Regions from separate parts of the Homo sapiens genome. Here regions 1, 2, 3 and 5 are each linked to region 4. Evidence: promoter capture Hi-C in 16 types of primary human blood cells and fetal thymus (Javierre and others, 2016). All regions are on one chromosome and are shown on one strand. Each heading gives the region's core, a stretch centred on a gene start or on the middle of the fragment in contact. The rest is flanking DNA. Distances are from core to core; before and after follow the strand shown. Region 1 has its middle 66 kb from the start of NLRP1. Region 2 has its middle 89 kb from the start of NLRP1. Region 3 has its middle 150 kb from the start of NLRP1. Region 4 holds the start of AIPL1 (AIP like 1 HSP90 co-chaperone). Region 5 has its middle 50 kb from the start of NLRP1.

The links. Contacts are between HindIII fragments. The CHiCAGO score rates a contact against its expected background, and 5 or more counts as called.
Region 1: a fragment that was not itself captured here is called in contact with the fragment with the promoter of AIPL1 in region 4 in 1 of 17 cell types (total CD8 T cells); the score reaches 5.0 in total CD8 T cells.
Region 2: a contact is called between a fragment that was not itself captured here and the fragment with the promoter of AIPL1 in region 4, in 1 of 17 cell types (M1 macrophages). The highest score is 6.8, in M1 macrophages.
Region 3: a fragment that was not itself captured here is called in contact with the fragment with the promoter of AIPL1 in region 4 in 2 of 17 cell types (M0 macrophages and M1 macrophages); the score reaches 5.9 in M0 macrophages.
Region 5: a contact is called between a fragment that was not itself captured here and the fragment with the promoter of AIPL1 in region 4, in 1 of 17 cell types (total CD8 T cells). The highest score is 6.3, in total CD8 T cells.

Annotation. Positions count from the first base shown.
Region 1 is chr17:5,649,258-5,651,957 of GRCh38, forward strand. No RefSeq gene overlaps it. Among named protein-coding and RNA genes, the nearest start is that of NLRP1, 66 kb to the left of the region's middle. The HindIII fragment of the contact is 8,928 bases long and covers 1-2,700 here.
Region 2 is chr17:5,672,636-5,675,335 of GRCh38, forward strand. No RefSeq gene overlaps it. Among named protein-coding and RNA genes, the nearest start is that of NLRP1, 89 kb to the left of the region's middle. The HindIII fragment of the contact is 2,500 bases long and covers 130-2,629 here.
Region 3 is chr17:5,731,537-5,734,236 of GRCh38, forward strand. It overlaps the pseudogene LOC100128284. Among named protein-coding and RNA genes, the nearest start is that of NLRP1, 150 kb to the left of the region's middle. RefSeq lists an enhancer at 974-2,173. The HindIII fragment of the contact is 1,125 bases long and covers 872-1,996 here.
Region 4 is chr17:6,433,871-6,436,570 of GRCh38, forward strand. It overlaps AIPL1 (AIP like 1 HSP90 co-chaperone), which reads right to left and starts at 1,251. Exons shown (of 6, transcript NM_014336.5): 1 at 1,139-1,251; 2 at 49-228. The coding sequence starts at 1,234. The HindIII fragment of the contact is 8,305 bases long and covers 1-2,700 here.
Region 5 is chr17:5,632,749-5,635,448 of GRCh38, forward strand. No RefSeq gene overlaps it. Among named protein-coding and RNA genes, the nearest start is that of NLRP1, 50 kb to the left of the region's middle. The HindIII fragment of the contact is 2,999 bases long and covers 1-2,700 here.

The DNA of each region.
Region 1 (2,700 bases), core at 136-2,635, 780 kb before region 4:
TTCTATTTAGTATACGTCTTTGAGGATGCACATTTTTCTTCAATTCTGGAAAATCCTCAGCCCTTACCTCTTTGGAAATTCCTTCCTCATAGCCCCCCTCTATTATCTTCTGGAGCTATTATTTCAACACATATTTGAGCCAGAGTTTTTTTTTTTTTTGTTTAATAGCTCTTTCCTATTTTTCTTTATTTCTTTAGGCTGTGTTCTTAGTGATTAAATTAGCACCATCATCCAATGTACTTATTCTCTCTTTGACTTTATTCTCTAGCATTGATTCCTTCTTTTATTCTCTAGCATTGATTCCTTCTATTGAAAAGTATTGTAAATGAAATGCCTATTTTGTGTTCAGCATTTTACATCTGTTTCTTTTTTTAAATGTCCACCCTACCTTGTTATATTTTTGCTTGCTTTTGTTTCACAATTTCTCATTGTTATTAGTCATGCTATTTCTTCCTTTATCCATTGTGGATCTTAAATAATAAAAAATATTTTCTGATTGCTTTATTATTTTACTTTCCCGGGCTGCATCAACCTTCTGAGTATGGTTTTGTCAGCTGTTTTTCTTAGCATTAGATTTCCTCATATGCTTCAGAACTTAGCTTTGTAGGATAATTATGTATGATTACTATGGGAATCCACTCAACTCCCTCAACCCCCAATTCAACTTTTGTGGTCATCTCCAACCCAGTCATGAGGCTTCTGTCCAAGGACTGGTCTCATGTTGGTGGTTGGGGCTCTGGTTCTTTAAGGAGACAGAGGAAGATGCAGATCCAAGAACTTGGCTGGTTTGCCTATAGGTCCTGGCTGGAAGGCTGCACATCCCCACTCCTACCTTCGTCATCACTGAGCTACATATAAACCACAACCCTGGGCCAGATACATTGCAGTTGGTTTCAAACTCCTTCCCTGACCAGGGAAATCCTATCCCAGGCCCAGTAAGTCTGGATCAATATCCCTACATTTTTAGTTCCTTGTACCCCACAGGATAGAGCTCCAGCCACCCCACAAGATAGAGCTCCAGCCACCTCTTCCTGCATCTTGGCCCCAGTCCAGCAGACCTGCAATTCAGTCAGCTTTTTTCTTTGTTCTTTTCTACCATTTCTAGTCCAGAAAAATACTTATCTTACTTTTGAAGGTGGCTATGTCTTCTTAGCTTTTGTTGTTAATATTTTATCTATGAGTGCTACGTGTTGGGATCAGAGGGAGAGCTTGAAGTATGAACTTACAGTATCATCTTGGCTGGGAGGCTCCATTAGTGTTCAAACCATTTGTAGTTAAAAATAATATTGTTGTGGCCAGGTGTGGTGGCTTACATCTGTAATCCCAGCACTTTGGGTGGCCGAGGCAGGTGGATCACCTGAGGTCAGGAGTTTGAGACCAGCCTGGCTAACATGGCAAAACCTCGTCTCTACTAAAAATACAAAAATTAGCTGGGACTGGTCGCACGTGCTTGTTGTCCCAGCTACTTGGGAGGCTGAGGCAGGAGAATCGCTTGAACCTGGGAGGCGGAGGTTGCAGCGAGCTGAGATTGCACCACTGCACCCCAGCCTGGGTGACAGAACGAGACTCTGTCTCAAAAAAAAAAAATTGTTACTTACAACCTAAAACATCATAACTGACAGAAGTACTTATCTCATAAGATTGTTCTGAGGACAAAGTGGGATTTTCCAATGTGAACACTCTGAATGGTGTCTGACATTGAGAAAGGCTCAATAAAAGGCAGCTATTACTTTAATTGCTTTTGTTGTCTACTGTTTCCACATGTGTTTCTGAAACTGTCCCTATAAACTTTGTAAAGTTCATCAGGGAAGAAGAGAGAGAAAGAAATGAAAATAAACACAGCTTGCAGCACATTTGGCATTAACATGAGATCAGCTGCTCTCTGACCCATTTCCTCATAGTTGTTTGGTGCCTATTGTCTTAGAATCACACTGACCCTAGATTACAGTTTCCCTTAACTGCTCCATAGGTAACAACTTGAACATTACAGAATATTAAGTTTTCCCATTGAGACAGTCTTTCAGACCCTGCATACCAGTGAAACTATCAATGTCAGCTGGCCTGAAGGACCCCACGAGGAGCTGACTCCCCAGAGAATGCAGTTTCCACATCCTGAAGATTTCATCGCCCTTACCCTAACCAATCAATGACCCCAATTCCCAGCCCCTTGCCCTCCATGATCCCCTTAAAAGCCCCAGCCCAGAACTCTTTGGGGAGATGGATTGAGGGTCTCTTCCCATCTCCTTGCTTGGCTGCCCTGTGATCATTAAACTCTTTCTCTGCTGCAAACCGTGCTGTCTCAGCATATTGGTCTGTTCCTGCACAACCAAAAGCTGTAACACTTCTGCTTTCTCTGGGTTCAGCCCAGCAGAACCATAATGTGGAAATTTCAACTGGGCTGCCTCTGTCTTTGGGCATATGCCTCCTCCTCCGTCAAACACACTGGTTTCACTCTCTGTCTTTTCTTCTTAACATGCATTTCCATGTTTGCTTCTTCAGAATGATTCCAACCCCCCAACTTCTAAATGATAGTCTGGAAAGACCACTTAACAAAAAGACCTAAGCTATTGATTTAAGCCCCACCCATGCTGTTAGCTGCAGGACCTTGGGAAAATCTCTAAGCTCTCAGCCCCATTTTCTCCATCAGCCAAACGGAGGTGGTGATGGTTTTGTCCACTTTACAGGGTTGTTGTGAGAATT
Region 2 (2,700 bases), core at 130-2,629, 760 kb before region 4:
AGGAAAACTCAGGGAAGTAGAACCCAGCACCCTCCTAGGGTCCTTGTTTCTGCTTACCAAGCTCTTCCTGGTGACAGGGGCAGTCCAACAAGGTCCAGCCCCAGTGGGTGCTGATGGGGGCAGGAATGAAGCTTGGCCTCCACCCCCTGAGGCAGTGAGGTCGAGTGGTGCTAGCATCCCTGTTGCTGGCTCTTCCCAGGCCTGCTCCTTATCCTGAGAGTGACCCATTGATGGGATGCATTGTGCCCCTCCTCTACCAGGGGAGAAATGGGGAGTCAGGGTCATCCTGGGTGACTCAGAGACACTTTCAGTTAAGTACTGGCCCCTTGATGTGAAAATAGGAACAGGGAGTCAGCAGATGCTGCTCTGATGTGATAAGAGCAGGCCATTATTTCACAAAGTGTAGGATCAGTCACATGACCAGGAAGAAGTCACACTTCTCTTGTAAACTAAAATATGATGTCTCCAGGGAAACTCGATTCTTTGGTTGAAAGGTGAGTTTGTCCTTAAGTCATCAGGAGAAAACACTGGTTATGGCTGTGGTTGGTGGGGAGAGCCTGACGTGGAATTGAAGCCTGGTCCACCCCGGCCCACAGGTCCCAGTCATTCTGGGACAGAGCAGGGGAAGTCCCATGATATCAGGCTGAAGATGGAGCGGGCAGAGTGCAGGGCAAGAGGCGAGATTCCAGTACTGTTTAGAAAGGTGAAAAGTCTCCAGGGAAGGGTGGGGGTACCCAGGTGGGGGCCAGGGGGCTGCAGGTGGAAGAGGCAGTGGGGCTGTGAGCTGGAGAGTGGGAAGGAAGAGGGGTCCCTAGTGAGACCTAGTTCCTGTTTCTCCACCCTGTGACGTGAGGATGAGATGCCAGAGCAGTGGTCCTCACACATCAGCACACATCAGAATCACTGGGAGGGTTTGCAAAAACATGGACCGCTGGGCCCCACCCCAGAGCTTCTAATTCCGTAGGTCCGGGATTGGAACTGATAACTGGCATTTCTAAGAGGCTCCTGGTATCACTGATCCTGCCAGTTAGAGGACCACACTTTGAGAGCCACTGGTCTAGATGTGGCCGGCTTCTATTGTACAATTTTTTGGTGCTTACTCGAATTCCTCACCAGGGAGCTGCCTACACCTCCCTCAGGTTCAGTGTGTGTTTGGTCTGAGAAGATGAAGAGTGCTGGCGGGGGACGGGGTGGAGCGGACTCCCCCAGATAATGGGGCTGGGCACTGATTTTTCCTTCCCCGGGGATAAGAGACTAGAGGCCACTCTCCAGCCTGAGGCCATCCGGCCAATTCCTCTGATTTACCCACTCCCCCAAGTGACAAAGGACACCCCTTTCTAGGATGGAAAGAAGGGCCCCTGCTATGATAGTTACTCAAGAGTGCCTTGTGTTGGGGCGTTGAGGTTTGCAGAAGTGGAAGTGGATTGGAAAGGAGAGCAGCCCCATGACAGAACCTTCTTGTTCCTTGCATTGACATCAAAGCTCAAGCTCACGTCCCACCTCACCTTCCTCTGCTGTGTGATCCTGGGGGAACTTAACTTAGTGAGCCCTGATTTTCTCATCTGTAAAATGGGAACAATGAAAATGTCTGTCCTACTGCTCACTGGGATTGTTTTGGGAGGATGAGGCAGTGGATGTGAAATTGATATGTGAGCTATAAATTGTGTACCTGTGTGAATTCTAACACTGTTTTAAGTTTGCAAGGGAATCAAAGGAGAAAGGAGAAATGGAACAGTCATGAAGAGAGCAACTACTTTCCATTGGGACCCAGGCATTCATTTCCTCTTTTTTTCTCCTTATGTTCAGAAAACTCAGATTAAAAATAACATGAGACATGCACACGTATGTTTATAGCGGCACTATTCACAATAGCAAAGACTTGGAACCAACCTAAATGTCCAACAACGATAGACTGGATTAAGCAAATATGGCACATATACACCATGGAATACTATGCAGCCATAAAAAATGATGAGTTCATGTCCTTTGTAGGGACATGGATGAAACTGGAAACCATCATTCTCAGCAAACTGTCGCAAGGACAAAAAACCAAACACCGCATGTTCTCACTCATAGGTGGGAATTGAACAATGAGAACACATGGACACAGGAAGGGGAACATCACACACCGGGGCCTGTTGTGGGGTGGGGGAAGGGGGGAGGGATAGCATTAGGAGATATACCTAATGCTAAATGACGAGTTAATGGGTGCAGCACACCAACATGGCACATGTATACACATGTAACAAACCTGCATGTTGTGCACGTGTACCCTAAAACTTAAAGTATAATAATAATAAAATTAAAAAAAAATTACATGAGACAAAAGTCCACACTTCAGCTGTCATATCAACTTTAGCCAGGACACCCACTAACATGAAAGATGGGGGTTAGTTGATTATTTGGGTTTGGGAAATGGTCAATCGTATTTTGGAAATGTTGACATTTGCTGGCTTGGGACCATCACAATGTTGCCCACGTTCCTTCTTCTGAGGCCGAAAGTTAATCAGGAGGATCTAGTGAATGTTGATGTCCCACAGAGTTGGTCCTTGTCAGTATCGCCCCAATATAAAGACAATTAATAAGCATAATCCAACTATGTCTTATTGCACACATGCTGTAGAATGCAAGCTTTATGGGCATGATTTCAACTTGCAAGGTAGGTACTATTGTTTCCACTATAGAGATGAGAAAATTGAG
Region 3 (2,700 bases), core at 184-2,683, 700 kb before region 4:
CCCACTTGCTGTTTAGTCTAAACCAAGTCCCTCCTGATGGGGAAAATCCTGGAACTGCTAAAAAAAACCCCTCAAATCGGCAAGGTCAGGAGGATGTCCAGACATTCCATCCAAAAAGACAGGGAAAAAGGATGGGACCCAGGAAGGATTTAGGGGCAGGAGACAGACATGTAACAGAATCCAGAAGGTACAACTTAGAATTCAGAACTTGAGTTTGAACTGCAGAATTTGGAATTTGGAATACAGAATTGGAAGATAGAACAGAGGTGACAGGCTGGGCGCGGTGGCTCATGCCTGTAATCTCAGCACTTTGGGAGGCTGAGGTGGGCAGATCATGAGGTCAGAAGTTCAAGACAAGCCTGGCCAACATAGTGAAACACTGGCTTTACTAAAAATACAAAAATTAGCCTGGCATGGTGGCATGTGCCTGTAATCCCAGCTACTCAGGAGGCTGAGCCAGGAGAATTGCTTGAACCCGGGAGGCGGAGGCTGTGGTGAGCCGAGATCTTGCAGTGAGCCGAGATCATGGCACTGGACTCCAGCTTGGGTGACAGAGCGAGACTTGGTCTCAAAAAAAAAAAAAAAAAAAAAAAAAGAAACAGTTGGAATAGAAGAAGTCTGGGGCATATCATTTAGATGCTAAAAAAAAAAAAAAAACAACATTTCCAGGACATTTTAAAGGTATTTGGAATCAGGGCTGTTGCTCCCGGTGGAGTAGGTTCCCAGGGAGACTGGGACACAGAAAAGAAGGGACTTGGAGTCCCGTCTGCTGGGCACTCAGCTCAAAGCTCACACCCCTGACGGACTCTGCTTGACGTTTACATGTTACCCTTCTCAAACGGGGCTTCTGTGCCTCCTGGAAATTTAGGTAAGCTTGGTTCAACCCTCCCAAGTTACAGCCTGCGAAAGCTGAGGGTCTTCCTCATGATCCTGGACAATTCCTGATGGCCTAATTCTTCAGTCTGTTCTTTTCGGCATTAGAGGGTGCAGCCTCCTGCCATCTTGGATAAAAAACCCAGTCTGCAGTGGTTTCACTAAGGGTGCTCCCAACAGATGATTCATGGGTGTGGGGGACTTGCTCAAGATTTGAGGGGTCTCGCCAGGCTCCCCAGAATCTTCATCCATTTCACTGTTCCTCTTCCCCTTCCTCTCTCTTTTCCTCTCTTTTTCAGGGTCACCAGCCCTCTTCCCACCATCTAAAGCTCATATGAGCTTACTGTGTGGACCCACTCAGAAGCCCAGAGTTGGAATAAAGATTATTTTAAACTGAAGACATTTGAGGTTCAACAGACGCAGAGAAAAGCCTCCTCAGAGCTTCCCTTATCTGACTAAAAGCAGCAACTTCTGGTAAATGAAGCTACCATAGATCCCTTCTCCGGGGGAGTTTCATGGCCCTGAGGAAGATGGAAAGACCACCTTTATTTGTATGGAAAGACATCACCACACTCTTCAAAAAATGTCCTGTTATCCTGAAAAAAATGTATTTCCTAAAGAAGCCCATCTGTATTTCCCATAGGAGCCTTTTCTCCCTCCTCCCTTTCCCCTACTAGGTTAGGTATTTAAGCCCCAAATTCTAATCACGACTTTGAGTTACTCATCACTGAACACTCAGGCTTGCGTAAGTAAACTCTTCTCTTCTCTTGCGAATGTGTCTTTTGTCAGTTTAATTTACAGAGCTCCAATCACCAAACCTAAAAAGATAGAGAAAAAGTTTACCTCTCCTATATTATTTATCTTCTGCCTCCTCCTCTAAAGTCTCAGCTTCTAACCCAGGTAAGATTATCTAGGAATCGTCCCCAGAAAGGCGTGTTTCCTAAGCCTACCGGTAATTATGAGAGAAGAAAAATTTTCCTTCTAGCTGCACAGGTATTACATGGATGGGGTCAGGATAAACCCACATTACTCAAAGAAATATTTGCATTTTTAGGCCAACCACTATCCACAGAATCTCTGGGCTTAACTATTCCTTAGGGAGAGCACAAGAAGGAAATTGCAAAGCTTTTGTCAAAATATTTGGCCACCAAAAAATTCCTGCTTGCTTCACAGAGACAGATGCGTGAATGCCACAGCACTATCTGTTCTGTGTTTTATGATCCTCCCCAAAATAACAGTCTCTGTTGGATTTGCGCTGGTGATTTGAGAATAAGAAACTTTAAAAACAACTAGACAACCAGTTCAAGAGAGCAGATAATGTATATTCAGCAGCCTCCCCCTCCTGCCCTAACTTCTGAGAGTGACAGAAATAATTATTGTAACAAGTTCTCATTACCATGCTGGGAAGGAAGGAGAGAGGCAGTTGATGGACAGTAATTATAAGAAGCTCCTTAGATGAAGCAAGGAAACTGCAGTCAAAAATCATCTGTAGGAGAGGAAGGATGCAAAAGATGGGCAAGGGGGCAAGGGCATGGCAGGCCTGGAGATTGTGATGCCAGGATGAGATGGGACCCTGATGCTCCTGATCGAGCCACAGATGGGAGATGCCGCCCCTTTATCAGGTAGCAAACAACGAAATGTCTTGTTTTAAGAAGTAGCAAGTTCGGGCACGGTGGCTCACGCCTGTAATCCTAGCACTTTGGGAGGCCGAGGTGGGCAGATCACGAGGTCAGGAGATCGAGACCATCCTGGCTAACACGGCGAAACCCTGTCTTTAGTAGAAATCCAAAAAAGTTAGCCAGGCATGGTGGCAGGTGCCTGCAGTCC
Region 4 (2,700 bases), core at 1-2,500:
GCCCAGAAAAGACTAGTCCCAGGAGACAGGCGCGCAGGGCCTACTTACGATGGTGTCGCACCAGAACTCGGCCACCTCGTGCACCCGCATGGAGGTAAGCAGGATCTCCCAGACCTCGAGCTTGAACATGTTTCCGATGATGATGTGCATGGGCTGGCCCACCTGCCGACTGTCGTCAATGACTGTCCGCTCCTCATCACATTTCATGGTGCGGAAATGAAAGATCACCTAGTCACCGAGACGGTGCACTCTGCTCTAGACACACTGTTCAAGGCCCGGCAGAAGCCACCCCCTTGCCACCGACACCCAGGGCTGTCCCCAGGGTCAGCTCACTCAGTTCACCCCATCAGATGCCTCAGACCCCTGGAGCACCTCCACCCTGCCTGCACCCCCCAGGGAGGAGGGACCCACCCCTCCCTACAGACCCCATTCCACTCCCCACAGCCCTGTGCGTCCAGAAATCCTTCCTCAAGTAAGCCCGAGTTCTTTTTTTTTTTTTTTTTTCTGAGACAGAGTCTCACTCTGTTGCCCAGGTTGGAGTGCAGTGGTATGATCTCGGCTCACTGCAACCTCCACCTCCTGGGCTCAAGTGATTCTCCTGCCTCAGTCTCCTGAGTATCTGAACTGGGATTACAGGCGCCCAGCACATCTGGCTAATTTTTGTATTTTCAGTAGAGATGGGGTTTCACATGTTGGTCAGGCTGGTCTCGAACTCTTGACCTCATGATCTGCCCATCTTGGCCTCCCAAAGTGCTGGGATTACAGGCGGGAGCCGCCTCGCCTGGCCAAAGCCCGAATTCTGTAGCCACAGACGCACCCTTCAGTCCAGGGAAGCCTAACAGACATTTGGGGACAAATACCAAGACTCCTCGGACTCCCTTTCTTCTCACTCAACATTTAGGGCCCCAGAAAATTCCCAAAAGCCCTTCCCCTCAGCCCATGCTAAAGTTGAATCTGCAAAGTACCAAAAATGCCCCCTGAATGGGTAAACGCTGGGAGCTCCCCGGAGGCCCAGCGCTGGGGCTGCCTGGCTGTTTTTTTGGCACAGCTGAAAGCTGTTTACAGTGCCTTGGGGCACACCTGGAATGTTGAAAGCTGCTGTGGGGGACCCTGTCTGCTCCGGAGGGGCCCCACTCACTCGGGATCCGGTGATGAAGTTTGGGAGCTCGCCCGTGCCCCCGTGCAGAATGGTTTTCTTGACCCCTTCCACGTTCAGGAGCAGAGCGGCATCCATGGCTGCAGGAGAAAGGGAGGTGTCCAGCACAGGCGGAGATAATCTCACCTCCGGGGAAGACACTTAGGCGGCTGAGACTCTGGGATTTACCCAGCCAGGAGGAGTGGGGGGAAGGGCAGACGGTGGGGGCGGTGACCTAGGCGCCCCGGCTTCTCATCAGAGCCACTCGGGCCGGGCCTGTGGTCCACAGGCAGCCTCGCCTCCTATCCCATCCACCTTTGCTTCCAGTGATTCTGGGCCCCTGCCCAGGGTTGTGCTAGATTTGGCTTTTTGTTCCACCCCAAGAAGGAAAAAGGTCCGCTGAGCTTTCTTAAAGAAGACAGGGGACCAGGCGCGGTGACTCACGCCTGTAATCCCAGCACTTTGGGAGGCCGAGGCGGGCAGATCACAAGGTCAAGAGATCGAGACCATCCTGGCTAATATGGTGAAACCCCATCTCTACTAAAAATACAAAAATTAGCCGGGGGTGGTGGCGGGCGCCTGTAGTTCCAGCTACTCGGGAGGCTGAAGCAGGAGAATCGCTTGAACCCGGGAGGCGGAGGTTGCAGTGAGCCAAGATAGCGCCACTGCACTCCAGCCTGGCGATGTGGAGAGAGGCCTGGAGGCCACTGAAGGGGAAAAGGAGGGGAGGCATGGGCTGGGCCCAGACTCTAAGTCCCCGAGGACCCCAGGCCAGCCGGGGTGACAGCTGCCCTTTGCCATCCAGCCACCTTTCTGCTTTCCCTGTTCCCCCTCCCCTCCCCAGAATCTGCCTTCAGGAGGCCCTGCGATGGTGGCCCAAGGCAAGAGGGGACAGGTTTCTGGCTTGGGAGAGAAGGAAGACGGAGAACGAAAGGCGGGGTGGGTTTGGGTAAAGTTGAGGCGCCCTCCGCAGCCCCGCTCCTGCCTCCCCTGCAAGGTCTGGCTGGGGGAAGGGTGGGTATCCCCTCCCCTCCCCTCCCCTCCCCTCCCCTTTGGAGGCCCTTAGCCCTGTGCCCTGGGAACCAGGCAGAGTTTATTGAGGGCATCAGGGACGCCCAGAAGGGCTGGGAAACATAAATGCGAAGACCTGGTGTTTGGCACCACCGTGTGGCCAGTTCAAGCTCCTACACCTCCGCACCCTGAGGGCACTGGACTCAGCTCCACGAAACCATTCTCTTCCTGACACCAGGCTCACCGGTTGCAGAGGGAAGGGGTGCAGGACTCTGCTACAGGGAGAGATAAAAACACGGGACTAAGGAGGCTGAAGTAGGTGGATCACCTGAGGTCAGGAGTTTTGTATTTTTAGTAGTCTGTACTAAAAATACAAAAATTACCCAGGCATGGTGGTGCGCACCTGTAATCCCAGCTACTCAGGAGGCTGAGGCAGGAGCCTCGCTTGAACCCGGGAGGCGGAGGTTGCAGTGAGCTGAGATCGTGCCACTGCACTCCAGCCTGAGCAACACAGCGAGACTCTGTCTCAAAAAAACAAAACAAAACAAAAAATG
Region 5 (2,700 bases), core at 120-2,619, 800 kb before region 4:
TCTGAGGAGGTGAAATGTCACAGAACTTAAAGCAGCCAGGCACACGTTTCAGACCTGACCCCATCACTAACTCTGTGTCATCTTGGGCAAAGGATTGATCAGTTTCCTCACCCAAAGCCGGGGGCAAACATATCTGCTCCAGCTTCCTCATAGAGTTGTTCTGAGGATCAAACAGCAAATGGGATGACAGAATCTGGAAACTAGGTGTAGTGCACATTCCAACAGCTCATGTTTTTTGAGTGCTTTTTAAGGCCAGGCTCTGTGCGAGGTATTCTGTGTGCATCATCTCATGGAATCCTTAATCCTCATAAGGTAGATAACACTATTATTGTCTCACTTAAGGGACAGGAAAATTTAGGCCTCAGAGGAGTGATGTGTCTTTATCTACTCTGTGTGTGTGCATGTGTGTGTGCGTGTGTGTGTGTGTGTGTGTGTGTGAGAGAGAGAGAGAGAGAGAGAGAGAGAGTGCTTGGAAATTAACTCTGGTCTCTTTGACTCCGAAGTTCTTCTCTCTTCCTTTGTGCTCCACCCCCATCTCTGTCTTGCAGGACAAGCTGTGGCTGATGTCCCTGCAGCCCAGTGGTCCTGACGGACTGATGGAGACACAGGCAGATTGGTCCTGACGGACTGACGGAGACACAGGCAGATGGCAGGGCTCGAGTTGTCAGACACATCCTGAGTTGTCCAAGAGGCTCACCTTGAACACACCTGCAGACACTTGGGGAAACAGGATATTTTTGAGATTTTTATCTTAGAGAAGGGACTTTCTGCTTTCTGCTCTTTAAGATTAATGACCTCCAGAATCTGTGACTTTTGGGCAGCAGAGGTTCAGGAGACCAAGTGTCTGCTGCTTTATTCATCCAGTGAGAGCAGAACTGGGCTTCTCAGGGTCCAAGAGGCCCATCTCATTGGCAACAAGAGCCCAGCCTGAGGATTTTACAAATAGTTGGAGCTCTCTCTCTCTGCCTTCTTGTATCTGCAGCCTCAACTTTTAGCTCCAAGCCACGTTCATCAATTGATGGCCCTTGTTTCTGTTTTGACGAAACGAAATTTGCTTTTAAAATCCTGGGTTCAGAACTCTAAGCACAGCCCTTCTGGGAGGCATAAATAAGTTGGATTTAAGAGAGACTAATCAGGGAACAATTCTGAAGTGAACCGAGTTTCTACAACTAGACTCTCCAGCTTCATTAAGAGTGAATTTGGTCACCTTTTGTATTTTTGAATAAAAATAGGCTAAGCCCCTCACTTGCCATATTTTAAAAAATCTCAGGAAATTTCTTGGGGCTTTTAGATTATTTTAAAAAACCCCTTAGTGTGCACTCAGTCCTAAGTGGTCAGTCCGGTTTCCATATGCTCATGCTGGTAAAACTGGGAAATATGTCTAGTCCACCAGTAGGCAGGCTGGCTTCAGCTGCCATCAATGCTGCTGCCGCCACATGGGATGGTTGTTGAAAACTGATCCAGCACAACGTGGTCCCCTCTTATCCCTGGCTGTGAGGATGTGCTTGCTGGCTCACATCCTTGCACTGACCATGTTGCTATTTTTTAAAATTTATTATTTATTTATTTTTTGAGATGGAGTCTCGCTCTGTTGTCCAGGCTGGAGTGCAGTGGTGCGATCTTGGCTCACTGCAACCTCTTCCTCCCAGATTCAAGTGATTCTCCTGCCTCAGACTCCTGAATAGCTGGGATCACAGGCGCCCACGACCATGCCTGGCTAATTTTTGTATTTTTAGTAGAGACGGGGTTTCACCGTGTTGGCCAGGCTGGTCTTGAACTCCTGACCTCAGGTGATCCACCTGCCTCGGCCTCCCAAAGTGCTGGGATTACAAGCATGAGCCACTGCTCCAGACCCAAGCTGCCACTGGAGGACAGGGATTCTATTTCCTCAGTGTTACACTTGGCACAGGGTGCTGCACACTGGGATTCCTAAACCAATAGCTTCCTTGTTCATGAGTATATTCCCAGCCACGCCCTGTCATGTGATGGAGCAGCCACGGGGGTTCTGCCGGCCTCAGCATGCATGGCCTCAAGACCAACTCTCTTTGAGATTAGCTTGGGTCCCTTCTCCAGATTTCCCCTCCCTTTAGGGTGAGTCTCAGCCTCCCAGAGGGATCTTTTCCTGCTGATAGTTCTCAATCGGGATCCTCACAGTGCCCCAGCAATTCCAATAGGTTTGAACTTAACAATGGCAGAGGGCAACATTGGCATATTTGCTGAGAAGCTGCCAGAGGACTCAATCTCCTCCTTCTGGTACCACTTCTGCGTTCCAAGGAGTATCAGCAGGAGCAGCCAATAGGTTGGCTAGGAAAATGTCCAGTTGCAGCCCTCCCTTGCGAGGCACTAGGGGGCTATTTGTCATTTTACGTAAGGACCAGATGAGGTTTTCTAGAACAATTCATCTATGGAATAAACTAGCTGCAACATTTAAATGGCAGCTTATAAATTCCCTATAAAGGTTTAAATTCTGCCTAACCAGGTATCTCTTTGTATTTATAAGACCCAAAGAAGAGGCTTTGGAACTTCATCTTCTTGCTCTGACAAGTTCAGAACTGGGGACCCAAGTCTTTGTTTCTTTATTTTTTCTTTTTTCTTTTCTTTTTTTTTTTTTTTGAGATGGAGTTTGCTCTTGTTGCCCAGGCTTGAGTGCAATGGTGTGATCTTGGCTCACGGCAACCTCCGCCTCCCAGGTTCAAGTGA